Regions from separate parts of the Homo sapiens genome. Here region 2 is linked to region 1. The links are contacts of gene promoters, found by promoter capture Hi-C in human tissues and cell types (Jung and others, 2019). All regions are on one chromosome and are shown on one strand. The core of a region is centred on a gene start or on the middle of the fragment in contact, and the rest is flanking DNA. Distances in the headings are between cores, read along the strand shown. Region 1 holds the start of TOMM20L (translocase of outer mitochondrial membrane 20 like). Region 2 has its middle 17 kb from the start of ACTR10.

Evidence for each region. Contacts are between HindIII fragments. The study calls those that stand out against the background at their distance.
Region 2: a contact is called between a fragment that was not itself captured here and the fragment with the promoter of TOMM20L in region 1, in 1 of the 25 tissues and cell types used here (spleen).

What each region holds. Positions count from the first base shown.
Region 1 is chr14:58,393,003-58,399,429 of GRCh38, forward strand. TOMM20L (translocase of outer mitochondrial membrane 20 like) reads left to right here and starts at 2,928. Exons shown (of 5, transcript NM_207377.3): 1 at 2,928-3,091; 2 at 3,296-3,339. The coding sequence starts at 2,956. It overlaps TOMM20L-DT (TOMM20L divergent transcript), which reads right to left and starts at 2,703. Exons shown (of 2, transcript NR_187161.1): 1 at 2,299-2,703. RefSeq lists silencers at 2,736-3,255, 3,326-3,375. The HindIII fragment of the contact is 11,412 bases long and covers 1-6,427 here.
Region 2 is chr14:58,180,388-58,186,020 of GRCh38, forward strand. No RefSeq gene overlaps it. Among named protein-coding and RNA genes, the nearest start is that of ACTR10, 17 kb to the right of the region's middle. The HindIII fragment of the contact is 5,011 bases long and covers 730-5,633 here.

The sequences.
Region 1 (6,427 bases), core at 1,678-4,177:
GAGAAGGTATTAAAGAAGTACCTTTAATGGTAGATAGATATATGGTTACTATCTTGATTTTGATGACAGTTTCCTGGATGCATACATATGTCAAAATTTATAAAACTGTACACCTTAAATATCTGCAATTTATTGTATATCAATTTTACCTCGATAAAGTGATTTAAAAGAAAGAGAGTGGCCGGGCATGGTGGTTCATGCCTGTAATCCCAGCACTTTGGGAGGCTGAGGCGGGCAGATCACCCAAGGTCAGGAGTTCAAGACTAGCCTGGCCAACATGGTGAAACCCCATCTCTATTAAAAATACAAAATTAGCTGGGCGTAGTGGTGCACGCCTGTAATCCCAGCTACTCAGGAGGCTGAGGCAGGAGAATTGGAAATCGTGCCATTGCACTCTAGCCTGGGCAACAAGTGAAACTCCATCTCAAAAAATAATAATAAATAAATAAAAGAAAGAGAGCTATCATCCAGCATAGAACCATGTTTTGAAGACAACTATTAGTGCTATCTCAATATGAAAATTATCAAAGCTTTATAGGAATTCTGATCACCAAATTAGCAAGAGTGGTGCCTATATCTGAGAAGAAAATATCTACCTGTCCCATAGAAACTTGCCTAATTTTTCAATTATGTTTCCTCATGGCCTCTCTCTCTGGCAATTTCAACTTTAGAAATCTGTTTATTCCTAATTGCTGTAATAATTCTCCTACTTTTATGTGTCACTGTTTACTTTGCTCCTGAATACCCAGCTAATCTCAACAGTTTCTCTCGCTCCATCCCTCTCCATTTACCACAGGCATTAACTATGTGAAAGGGAAGGTGAAAGATGGGAAGAAAGCCACAAGATTGGTGGTCTTAGAAGACAAGTTGCCGTCAACCTAAAGAAAGATCAATTGAAGCTGGGCTAAACCCTTGCCAAGATTCTGAACCAGTCCCTGATCACCAGTAATACTTACAAGATGCTGACACTATCCTCTCCTCTGTGTTTACAATCAGGTTTTCACAATAACCAAGTTCCCTTCTAGAAGACAATTATCATGAGAAAAAACATACAGTACTCAAGAAAGCATGATATGTAACTTACCCCTGCTAACTCTTAAATTTTGAGGGCTGAGGCTACTACTCAGACCCATTGGTTTTTTAATCTATCTACTAATTTATAATTTACCTATCTATCTCTATATATATATATATATATATATATATATATATTTTTTTTTTTTTTTTTTTGAGACAGAGTCGCACTCTGTTGCCCAGGCTGGAGTGCAGTGGTGTGATTGATCTCAGTTCACTGCAACCTCCCCGCCTCCTGGGTTGAAGCAATTCTCGTGACTCAGCCTCCCAAGTAGCTGGGATTACAGGCTTGTGCCACCATGCCCAGCTAATTTTTGTATTTTAAGTAGAGATGAGGTTTCACCATGTTGGCCAGGCTGGTCTCAAACTCCTGACCTCAGGTGATCCACCCACCTCGGTCTCCCAGTGCTGGAATTACAGGCGTGAGCCAACACGCCCAGCCACCTATGTATTTTTATAGAGACAGGGTCTCATTCTGTCACCCAGGCAGGAGTGCAGTGGCAGTGATCAGAGCTCACTGCAGCCTCCAACTCCTAGGCTCAAGTGATCCCTGCAGAGTAGCTAGGGCTACAGGTGCACACCACGACCAGTATTTTTTTGTTTTGTTTTATCGAGACGGAGTCTTGCTCTGTTGCCCATGCTGGAGTACAGTGACACAATCTCAGCTCACTGCAACCTCCGCCTCCCGGATTCAAGCAGTTCTCCTGTCTCAGCCTCCCAAGTAACGGATTACAGGCACATGCCACCACACCCAGCTAATTTTTGTATTCTTAGTAGAGACAGTGTTTCACCATGTTGGCCAGGCTGGTCTCGAACTCTTGACCTTGTGATCTGCCTGCCTCGGCCTCCCAAAGTGCTGGGATTACAGGCATGAGCCATTGTGCCCGGCCCTTGTTTTGTTTTTTTAGAGATGGGTTCTTGCAATGTTGCCCAGGCTGGTTGGTCTCCAAGTCCTGAGCTCAAGTGATCCTCCCACCTCAGCCTCCCAAAGTGTTGGGATTTCAGTTGTGAGCCACTGCACCTAGCTAGACCCACTGGTATTCAGAGCAGTGATGAGCACCTTGCTATGCACACACTAGTAATAACAGTAAATTGTAAATCAGTAAATAGCAATTGTATAACCTAAATAAAAATGAATTATCTAGTTCTTTAGGTCCCTAGCTTATGCCTTTTCTCCTCCTTAGTAGAAAAGTCAGAACTCTGGTATTTAGGACAAAGTCTTACCTTCTTTCTTTCTGCTGTGTCCGCTGAGTAAGGCAAATATTAGAAAAGCAGCTAGGCCAGTATCATGGGACTCTCAGTTGTTTTTGCTTTGGGACCTTTGACTGTCAGTCTCAGCCCAGCAATTTAACGTATTTTTCTAGATTAAACAGTGTTGCTTCTGAATTCCTCCCTTGGACCTTGGACTGCTGGGTCCTTTCAGGAGACAAAGGATACCAGATTGGGGAGTACGGGCTACTGTTAGACAATGTGAACTAGGAGGTGACCAAAGTTGACCTTAGAGTCAACTTAATTTTGCAGGTGAGGGAACAGAGACCTAAACGACCACTGGCTCCCAGTAAAGCAGATTCGCAGCATACTGTGCTTTGCCTGAATGGGTGTTGTAGACACAGGGGCAGAGGCGTGTTTGGAGAAAGGGTTCAGAATTTGGAGTGCGACAGACGTAGGTTCGAACAGAGCTCTGCTACTCTGTGGCTGTGAGGGCTCCCGCACACACCCTCTCGAACGCTCGGCTTCCTCATCGGTCCGCAAGCCTGGGTGCGAGGCGTCAACGCGCAGCTGGGTGCGCAGGAGGCCCCGAGGCCGGATGGGCCGCCGCGCCGACGCCCCCTGCCGGCCGGCCCGCGCCCAACGCTCGGCTTGTGGGACGCCCGCGGTCGGATGCCCTCCGTCCGCTCCCTCCTCCGCCTCTTGGCCGCCGCGGCGGCCTGTGGCGCCTTCGCCTTCCTGGGCTATTGTATTTACCTCAACCGGAAGCGGCGCGGGGACCCCGCGTTCAAGCGCCGCCTGCGGGACAGTGAGTGGGACCGAGGCGGAGGCGCGGCCGGGCCGGGCAGCGCGGGCGGGCTGCCGGCCGGGAGGGCCCCCCACTGAGAGGCCGGGCCGTGAGTGCCTCAGCCTCTGCCGAGGGGCCCGCGGCGCCCGGGCAGGCAGGACCACTGGGCCCACGCGTGCCTCTGGACGGGCCTCCCAGCCAGCATGTGCCGTGTTGTGTTCGCAGAAAGAAGAGCAGAGCCTCAAAAGGCTGAGGAGCAGGGCACGCAGGTGCAGTGCTTTCGATCCGCACAGGTAGCTCAGTAGACGCAGGTCCGGGCTCGCTGGGTTGCTTGGCTCCTGGCGGGCTCGGCAGCAGGTAGTTAGTTCCCTCAGCCGCCCGTGCCCGGGAAGAGGCCTGCCCTCGCGCGCCACGCACCGCCTCAGGCCCAGTCACTCTCCTCTCACAAAAGGGAGGGAAGGAAGGAGGAAGAAGTTGGAGTTATAAAAAGGCAGCTGCAAAGCAAAACACTGTACAACAGGCACTTCTTTTAACTGGAAGAAGGAAGAGGAGCCTTTTGCCCTGTCAGAGCCGCACAGGACACTTAAAAACCCAGGCTGGCCACGGTCACATGGCAGTAACTTCTAGATTGTTCTCCCGCAGGGCCTTTCTTGTAGCTCAGAAGCAGAAGGCATCTTCGTGTTTTGTAAATCTCTGCGGCAAAATTTGATTAGTCCCTTTTTTGTTGTTTTTAAGAGGCGGGCCGGGCTTGGTGGCTCACGCCTGTAATCCCAGCACTTTGGGAGGCAAGGCGGGCAGATCACGTGAGGTCAGGAGTTTGAGACCAGCCTGGCCAACATGGTGAAAGCCTGTCTCTACTAAAAATACAAAAATTAGCCGGGAGTGGTGGCGTGTGCCTGTAGTCTCAGCTACTTGGGAGACTGAGGCAGGAGAATTGCTTGAGTCCGGGAGGTGGCAGTTGCAGCCTGGGCGACAGAGCAAGACACTGTCTATAAAAAAAGAAAGAGACAAGGGTGTTCCTATGTTGCCCAGGCTGAACTAGAACTCCTGGCCACAAGCAATCCGCAGTTGATGCTGGATGTTTACTTAGCTGAGATTGTTAGCCAGAGCACCTACACGTCTGTGTGATCTGGGATTCTTCATTTGTGTGATGGGCTGTGTCCCAAGGGACAAGCAAACACATATATGTATGTGTGTATATATATGTGTGTGTGTGTGTGTCTGTGTATAGAGAGAGCACGCACATGCATGTGAACTAGAACATGTGCCCATGTGGAAGAGCAGATGGTACCACTTCTGGCAACATTGAAGCCTACTCAATTTAAAGGGAGAGGAAATAGATTCTACCTCTCAACAGGGATGGCAAGGTTTTGAAAGCACTTGTGTGACCGGGAATATTGCGGTAGCCATTTTTGAAACATGCAGTTTTTCCGGAGAAGACTTTGTAGCGGAAGTGGCATTGAACTGAGCCTGGAAGGATGATGAATTTGTGGCTTGGTTTCAGGGGAGAGGATACAGGATGGAGGGAACAGCATGTGCATAAAGATGCAAAGTGGGGCATCTGCCAAGCACATTCAGTAAACCAGTTTGGCAAAGGAGTCATACTGAGGAATAGTGGGTGGTAAGGTTGGAGAGCGAAAGTAGGATTGAATTAGGGAAGGCTTGCTTTGAAGGCCAGGTTAAGGAACTGAGATTCAATGGAGGAATTACTGAAGATTTCTAAGCAGGAATTTTTTAAAAAGAAGGAAAGAAAGGCAGAAGAGAAATATTCTTAGATTGATCAAGCAGGAGTGTACTTAATGGATTGGAAAAGAAAACAAGCTATTGCAGCAATTTAGTTGAGAGGTAATAAAAATCCTGAACTATGGTGGTGGTAGTGGTAACTGGGAAGAATACAGTTCATGCCGACTGAGTAAAGGGTAATGGAGAGGCGGAGTCAAAGACACTTCCGGGGTTTCAAAATGGAATCACAGTAGAGAATAAAAGCCCATTTGACATAGTTAGCTGGGTAGGGAGTGTCCAAAGAGCTGGACATGGGAGTGGAGATACCTTCCCTGACTTGACTGAGACAGAGCCTGATACAGCTCCATGTCCCTCGTCATTGTCCATGGTTTCACTTGCACATTTGTGTAATTATTTGATTAATGCTTTCCGTTTATTACACTAAGCTGTGTGAGGGCAGACTTTGTTTTTTACTCTCCATTGTTTCCAGTGCCTAGAACAGAGTCTAGTGCGGTAGGTGCCCAGCAAATGTTTGTTGAATATTGTTGTTCATTGTAGGCAGAGGGAAACACCTTGTGCAGAGGCACAGAACATGAAATTGTAATGTTCAAGGAGTATTATGGCCAGAGAGATAGCTGAGGGTCAGTTTAGTGTCTTACCGTGGAGGACTTTGAATGCCAAACTGAAAAGTCAGGACATTTTTCTGTTGTGGTGGATAACTAATGATGGTGACTTTATTTCAGAGAACAGACACAATTATTTTGGTTTTATTTTTTAAATAAGACAATTCTGGTTCCAGTGTGGAGAAAGGAAGTTGAAGACAAGAAAATCAGTCAATGGCAGTTCATATGGGAAATAATAAATGATTTATATTAATATAAATTAATCATATTTTAATTATAATATAATCTAATTATATTCATATTAAGCCATAACTAAGTCACACTATCATTTATTGATATAAATCAATAATTATTAATAATAAATTGTTAATATTATTTCCCATATATGAAATAATAAATTATTTCAAGTGAAGAAGCAGCACAAGCAGGATTTTCAAATGTCCTTTCATATAATTGTCACAACTCTATTCTAATTTTTTTTTTTTTGACACAGGGTCTCACTCTGTTGCCCAGGCTGGAGTACAGTGGCAATGATCACAGCTCACTGCAGCCTCAACCCTTTTGGGGTTAGGTGATTCTCCCACCTCAGTCTCCTAAATAGCTGGGACTACAGGTGCATACCACCATGCCTGGCTAGTTTTTGTACTTTTACAGAGATGGGTTTCGCAACATTGCCCAGGCTGGTCTTGAACTCCTGAGCTCAAGCAGTCTGCCGGCCTTGGCCTCCTGAAGTGTTGGGATTACACGAGGGAGCCACTGTGCCTGGCCTCTATTCTCATTTTACACATGAATAAACCAAAGCAGATAAAGAGTCTCTTCTCACTTTTTCTAGGGTCTTTCTTCCTCTTCTTCCCAGGACTTTCCCAAAGTATGGTCCATTGCTGCATTACATTTACCTGGAGCATCTGTTAAAATATGGATTATTTGACCCTGATCCCAGCAATTCTGATCCAGTAGCCTGGGGAATTCTTACTGGCACAGTGACTGTCAGACTTTAGGATCCATAAGAATC
Region 2 (5,633 bases), core at 1,985-4,484, 210 kb before region 1:
TTAAACTCTTTCTGTATAGAAATTCCGGTGTTGCCACTAAAAAGAAGACACTCAATTCAACAGAATAATGGGCAAAGAACATAAGTAGGCAATATAAAACAATCACATAAAAATATATTCAACCCCAGTCATCGTTACAGAAAGTTACATTAAGATAATAATGTGATATCATTTCCCATCTATCAAATGAGTAAAGATTTAAGACTGAAGTTACCCTGTGTTAGAGAAAGTTAGGCAAATGGGCATTCTTATTTATTATTGGTGGGAGTGTAAACTGGTACAACTTTAGGGCTGCATTTAATATATATATACAAAAATATATAGGGGTGTGTGTGTGTGTGTGTGTGTGTGTGTCTGTGTGTGTATGTCTCCTTTACCCAGCAATTCCACTTTTAGAAATTTATCTTATAGATATACTTGTATATACATACTATAAGTATATATGCATACTATAATGTATCTTATAGAAATACTTGCATATACAAGTACACAAAGACTACATATGTATGTATACGTTATATATGTGTGTGTGTATGTGTGTGCGTGTGTGTGTGTGTGTATATATATATATATATATATATATATATATATATATATATATATATATATTTTTTTTTAAGAATGTTCATTGTGGCCGGGCGCGGTGGCTCACGCCTGTAATCCCAGCACTTTGGGAGGCCGAGGCGGGCGGATCACGAGGTCAGGAGATCGAGACCATCCTGGCTAACACGGTGAAACCCCGTCTCTACTAAAAATACAAAAAAATAGCCGGGCGTGGTAGCGGGCGCCTGTAGTCCCAGCTACTGGGGAGGGTGAGGCAGGAGAATGGCGTGAACCCGGGAGGCGGAGCTTGCAGTGAGCCGAGATCGCGCCACTGCACTCCAGCCTGGGCGACAGAGCGAGACTCCGTCTCAAGAAAAAAAAAAAAAAAGAATGTTCATTGTAGGACAGATGCGGCGGCTCACATCAGTAATCCTAGCACTTTGGGTGGCTGAGCCAGGAGGATCACTTGAGGCATTCGAGACCAGCCTGGGCAAAATATAGTGGGACTCCATCTCTGCAAAAAAAGTTTGTTTTTGTTTTTGTTTTTTTTTTTGAGATGGAGTCTTGCTCTGTCACCCAGGCTAGAGTGCAATGGCGCCATCTCAGCTCACTGCAACCTCCACCTCCCAGGTTCAAGCGATTCTCCTGCCTCAGCCTCCCAAGTAGCTGGGATTACAGGCGCCACGCCTGGCTAATCTTTGTATTTTTAGTAGAGACGGGGTTTCACCCTGTTGGCCAGGCTGGTCTCGAACTCCTGACCCCAGGTGATCCACCCGCCTCGGCCTCCCAAAGTGCTGGGATTAGAGGCATGAGCCACCATGCCCGGCCATTTTTGTTGTTGTTGTTGTTTGTTTTTTGAGACGGAGTCTTGTACTGTCGCCCAGGCTGGAATGCAATGGCGCGATCTCAGCTCATTGCAACCTCCACCTCCTGGGTTCAAGTGATTCTCCTGCCTCAGCCTCCCAAGTAGTTGGGATTACAGGCGCCCACCACCTTGCCCAGTTAATTTTTTGTATTTTTAGTAGAGGCGGGTTTTCACTGTGTTGGCCAGGCTGGTCTTGAACTCCTGACCTCGTGATCCGCCCGCCTCAGCCTCCCAAAGTGCTGGGATTATAGGCGTGAGCCACCACACCTGGCCCAAAAAAAGTTTTAAATTAGCCTGGCGTGGCTGGGCGCGGTGGCTCACACCTGTAATCCCAGCACTTTGGGAGGCCGAGGCAGGCAGATCGCCTGACGTCGGGAGTCTGAGACCAGCCTGACCAACATGGAGAAACCCCGTCTCTACTAAAAATACAAAAAAAAAAAAAAAAAAAAAAAATTAGCCGGGCATAGTGGTGCACGCCTGTAAATCCCAGCTACTCAGGAGGCTAAGGTAGGAGAATCTCTTGAACCTGGGAGGTGGAGGTTGCAGTGAGCCGAGACAGTCCCACTGCACCCCAGCCTGGGCAACAAGAGCGAAACTCCATTTAAAAAATATATATATATAGCCTGGCGTGGTGGCATGTGCCTAGCTACTTGGGAGGCTGAGGTGGGAGGATCACTTGAGACCAGGAGTTTGAGGATGCAGTGATCCAGCCTGAGTGACAGAGCTAATCTCTGTCAAAAAAAAAAAAAAATTCACTGTGGTTTTTGATAATAGAGAAAAACTAAAAATAATCTAAGTCACTAAAAGGACTCTGCTAAAAAAAAATAATAATACATCCATGAATCCATGAAAACTATGGCTATTAAAAAGGAAGAGGTGAGAGAATATATATAGACTTAATTTGATTTTTTAAGGTAACTTCAGTGAAAAAAAATAAGTTTTAGAAGCAATTATCACATTCATGTAAAATAATGTGTGAGTTTGTACACATAGAAAATATCCAAAATGTGAGAGTGGTGAGCTACATGGAGTCATATTGAAGGAGCAGAGGACTGTATTGGGGAAAGGACACATTTTACTTGATATACTTCTGTGCAATATGAATATTTTTCCAAAGAAAAAAGTTAATAAGATGTGTTTTTATCCTATGTATGAAAAATGCTTGAATATTGTCAAAAACTACAAAGCCTGTTTGAACTTTTCTAGAAAAATTAAATTATACTTTGGAGGAAAAAATTATTTATGCTTTAAAATCAAAACATTTGCCAACTTTATTTAGACATTTTTTAATGTCCTCTTTGCCAAACTAGAAATAAACACTGAATCATAGTTAAGTGATAAAATTAGAAAGAAATGCTACCCTAGGATGATATGTTTAGTGATATATTTGTACAGTGATAGACGTTGATGGGTAAGTACAAAAGAAAACTACAACTGAGAAGAAGTGTGTGGCATTAATCAACATGAGACCCAGTGAAATAACTCAATTCTTGTCAGTTTTCTTCCTGATTGCCTTCTCTCACATGCAAAAGGGAGTATCATCCAAAAATTAAAGTATTTCTCTCCAGGCCATTTGAAACTAGATGCTAATTACTTTGTTTTTTTAGAGACAGGGTCTCACTATGTTGCCCAGACTGGTCTGGAACTCTTGGCCTCAATCACTCCTCCTGTCTCAGCCTCCCAAGGGGCTGGGATTACAGACATGAGCCACTGCATGTGCCTGGCCATGCTAATTGTTTTTTATAAGGCAGCTGACAAAAGTCATGTTAAAAACCAGAACAAAGAAAGGATCAAGGGAATTACTCTCTTATAGTTTACTAGGATAGACCTCAATGTAATGAACTTTGTAGGCAGTTTACTGTGCAGTGGTAATTTAGGGCAACAAGTCTGGATCTCTCCTCTGAAGGTTAGTTGGCTGGTCTTCTTTATAAACAAGGGGGAAAATTACAGACTCTGTTTTACTCATTCATTATATGCTTAATTCATTCATTGTTCTATGCATCATTGATCGATTTTTTTTAAAATTTATTGAATACTTTGTATGTTCAGCTCTGAGAATAAGAAGTTAAAACACCATCCTTAGACTCAAATATTTGGAAGACCAAGGGTGGATAAGAAAAGAGGAAAATTACAAAACAAAGTAATAAAAGGTTTGTACAGAAAGTGAAGGGAACCCAAAGGAGAAGCACTAGTAAAAATTGGAGGGCCAGGGAAGACTTCCTAACAAAGGGAATGTCTGAACTGAGTCCTGAAGGATGAAGGTGTTCCAGATAGGGAGAGGGAACAGTGTGCTAAGTCATAGGGGCGAACTGAAAAAACACACACATTTTGGGAAATACTCATAGTTCACTACTATGTTAGCAGAGTTCTAAGAGGGGAATGGTAAGGCCAGGGAGAGATGAGCAGGGGTCAGGTCATGAGGGACTTTGTTTGTCATACTGAGAGATCTGGAATTCATTTGGAATTTGTCCTGATGATTATGGGTTTTAAGCAGGAAGATGACATGATGAGGGCTGGGTTTTAGAAAGATGTCTTGGGCAGCAGTGTAAAGAAATAAAACTAGGTGAGAAATATGAAGGGATAGTATGATACTTAAAGGCAGGAAAATTAGTGAGGAAGCAGTTGCAGTAACATAGGAAGGAGATGCTGAGGGCTTTTACTTTGTAGAGGACATACCAAATAGCAGATGAAGATGCTGGTTCTTTGACTAAACTCTGATGCGCTGGGAAAGACAATCAAGTCAGGGACTGAGGCAGTTTATAGAATCCTTTCTCAGCGATGGCTAGGGCCTTGGCAGCAAGGCCTAGGACAAGGAGTGGTCCTTGGTATACAAGCTGGGCCACCTGGCCAAGGCCATGGAAATTACTTCCTTGGAGGGGATCTCTTTCTGCTTATCAAGGAGTCTGAGGGGTTTATTTCCCCCCTCTCCTAGGGCAATCACTCAAGGTCCTGAAGAAGATCCAGGCTGAAGGCATTTGTGGCCATTGGGTTGATGTGGCAGTCTATTTTTTTTTTTTTTTTTTTTGAGACAGAGTCTCGCTCTGTCACCCAGGCTGGAGTGCAGTGGCGCTATCTCCTCTCACTGCAAGCTTCGCGTCCCAGGTTCACGCCATTCACCTGCCTCAGCCTCCCGAGTAGCTGGGACTATAGGCACCCGCCACCACACCCAGCTAATTTTTTGTATTTTTAGTAGAAACAGGGTTTCCCTGTGTTAGCCAGGATGGTCTCAATCTCCTGACCTCGTGATCTGCCCACCTCGGCCTCCCAAAGTGCTGGGATTACAGGTGTGAGCCACCGTGCCCGGCCAGATGTGGCAGTCTAGCTGCTTCATGGAAGTCAATGGTGCCATCATCTTGACCAAGATAGCTTAATTCCTGTGAATTGTGCTAGGAGAACAAGATTAACAAGCACTTCATGCTTGCCAGGTGATACTCTCTTTTAAGGTGACAGGGTGCTGGGTCTCATTAGGGATGCATCTTACTCTTGCCCCTAAATGAAGTGACATTATCTCTCTGTTCTTGTGCCTAAGAGACTTCTGCTGATTACTGACATCAATAACTGCTATACTTCTGCCAGGAACTGCACTCCTACTTGGACAACTTGGCTAAAGTCATCTTTGATGCCATCTCCAAATCCTACAGGCTATCTGACCCCTGAACTCTGGAAAAAGACAATATTCACCAAACCTCCCTCTCACAGATTTACTGATCATAAAGACTCAAGTGACAATGCAAAGAACCTAAAATCTTTGTATGGCTACCATGCTGTGTTCATATACAAGTAAAATTCAAGAGAGAGTGGGAAAGAAAGATGATGAAGGCCTGAACTAATGTAGTAGTAGTAAGGATGGAGAGAAGGGGCTATGATCTGAAGGTTTATGTCCCCTCAGATTCATGCATTGAAATCCAAACCCCCAAGGTGATGGTATTAAAAGGTGGTACCTTTTGGGAGGTGATTAGGTCATGAAGGCAGAGCTCTCATGAATAAGATTAGTTCCCCAATTTTGAGAAAGAAAAAAAAAAGCCCCAGGGAGCTGCCTTGCCCCTTCCACCATGTGAGGTTGCAGTGAGAAGGCACAATTCAGTGAACTAGGGAGTGGGCCTTCACTAGACACCTTGATCTTCGACTTCCAAGCCTCCAGAACTATGAGAAATAAGTTTCTGTTTTGCATAAGATACCTAGTTTACGGCATTTTATTATAGCAGCGTGAACAGACTAAGACAAA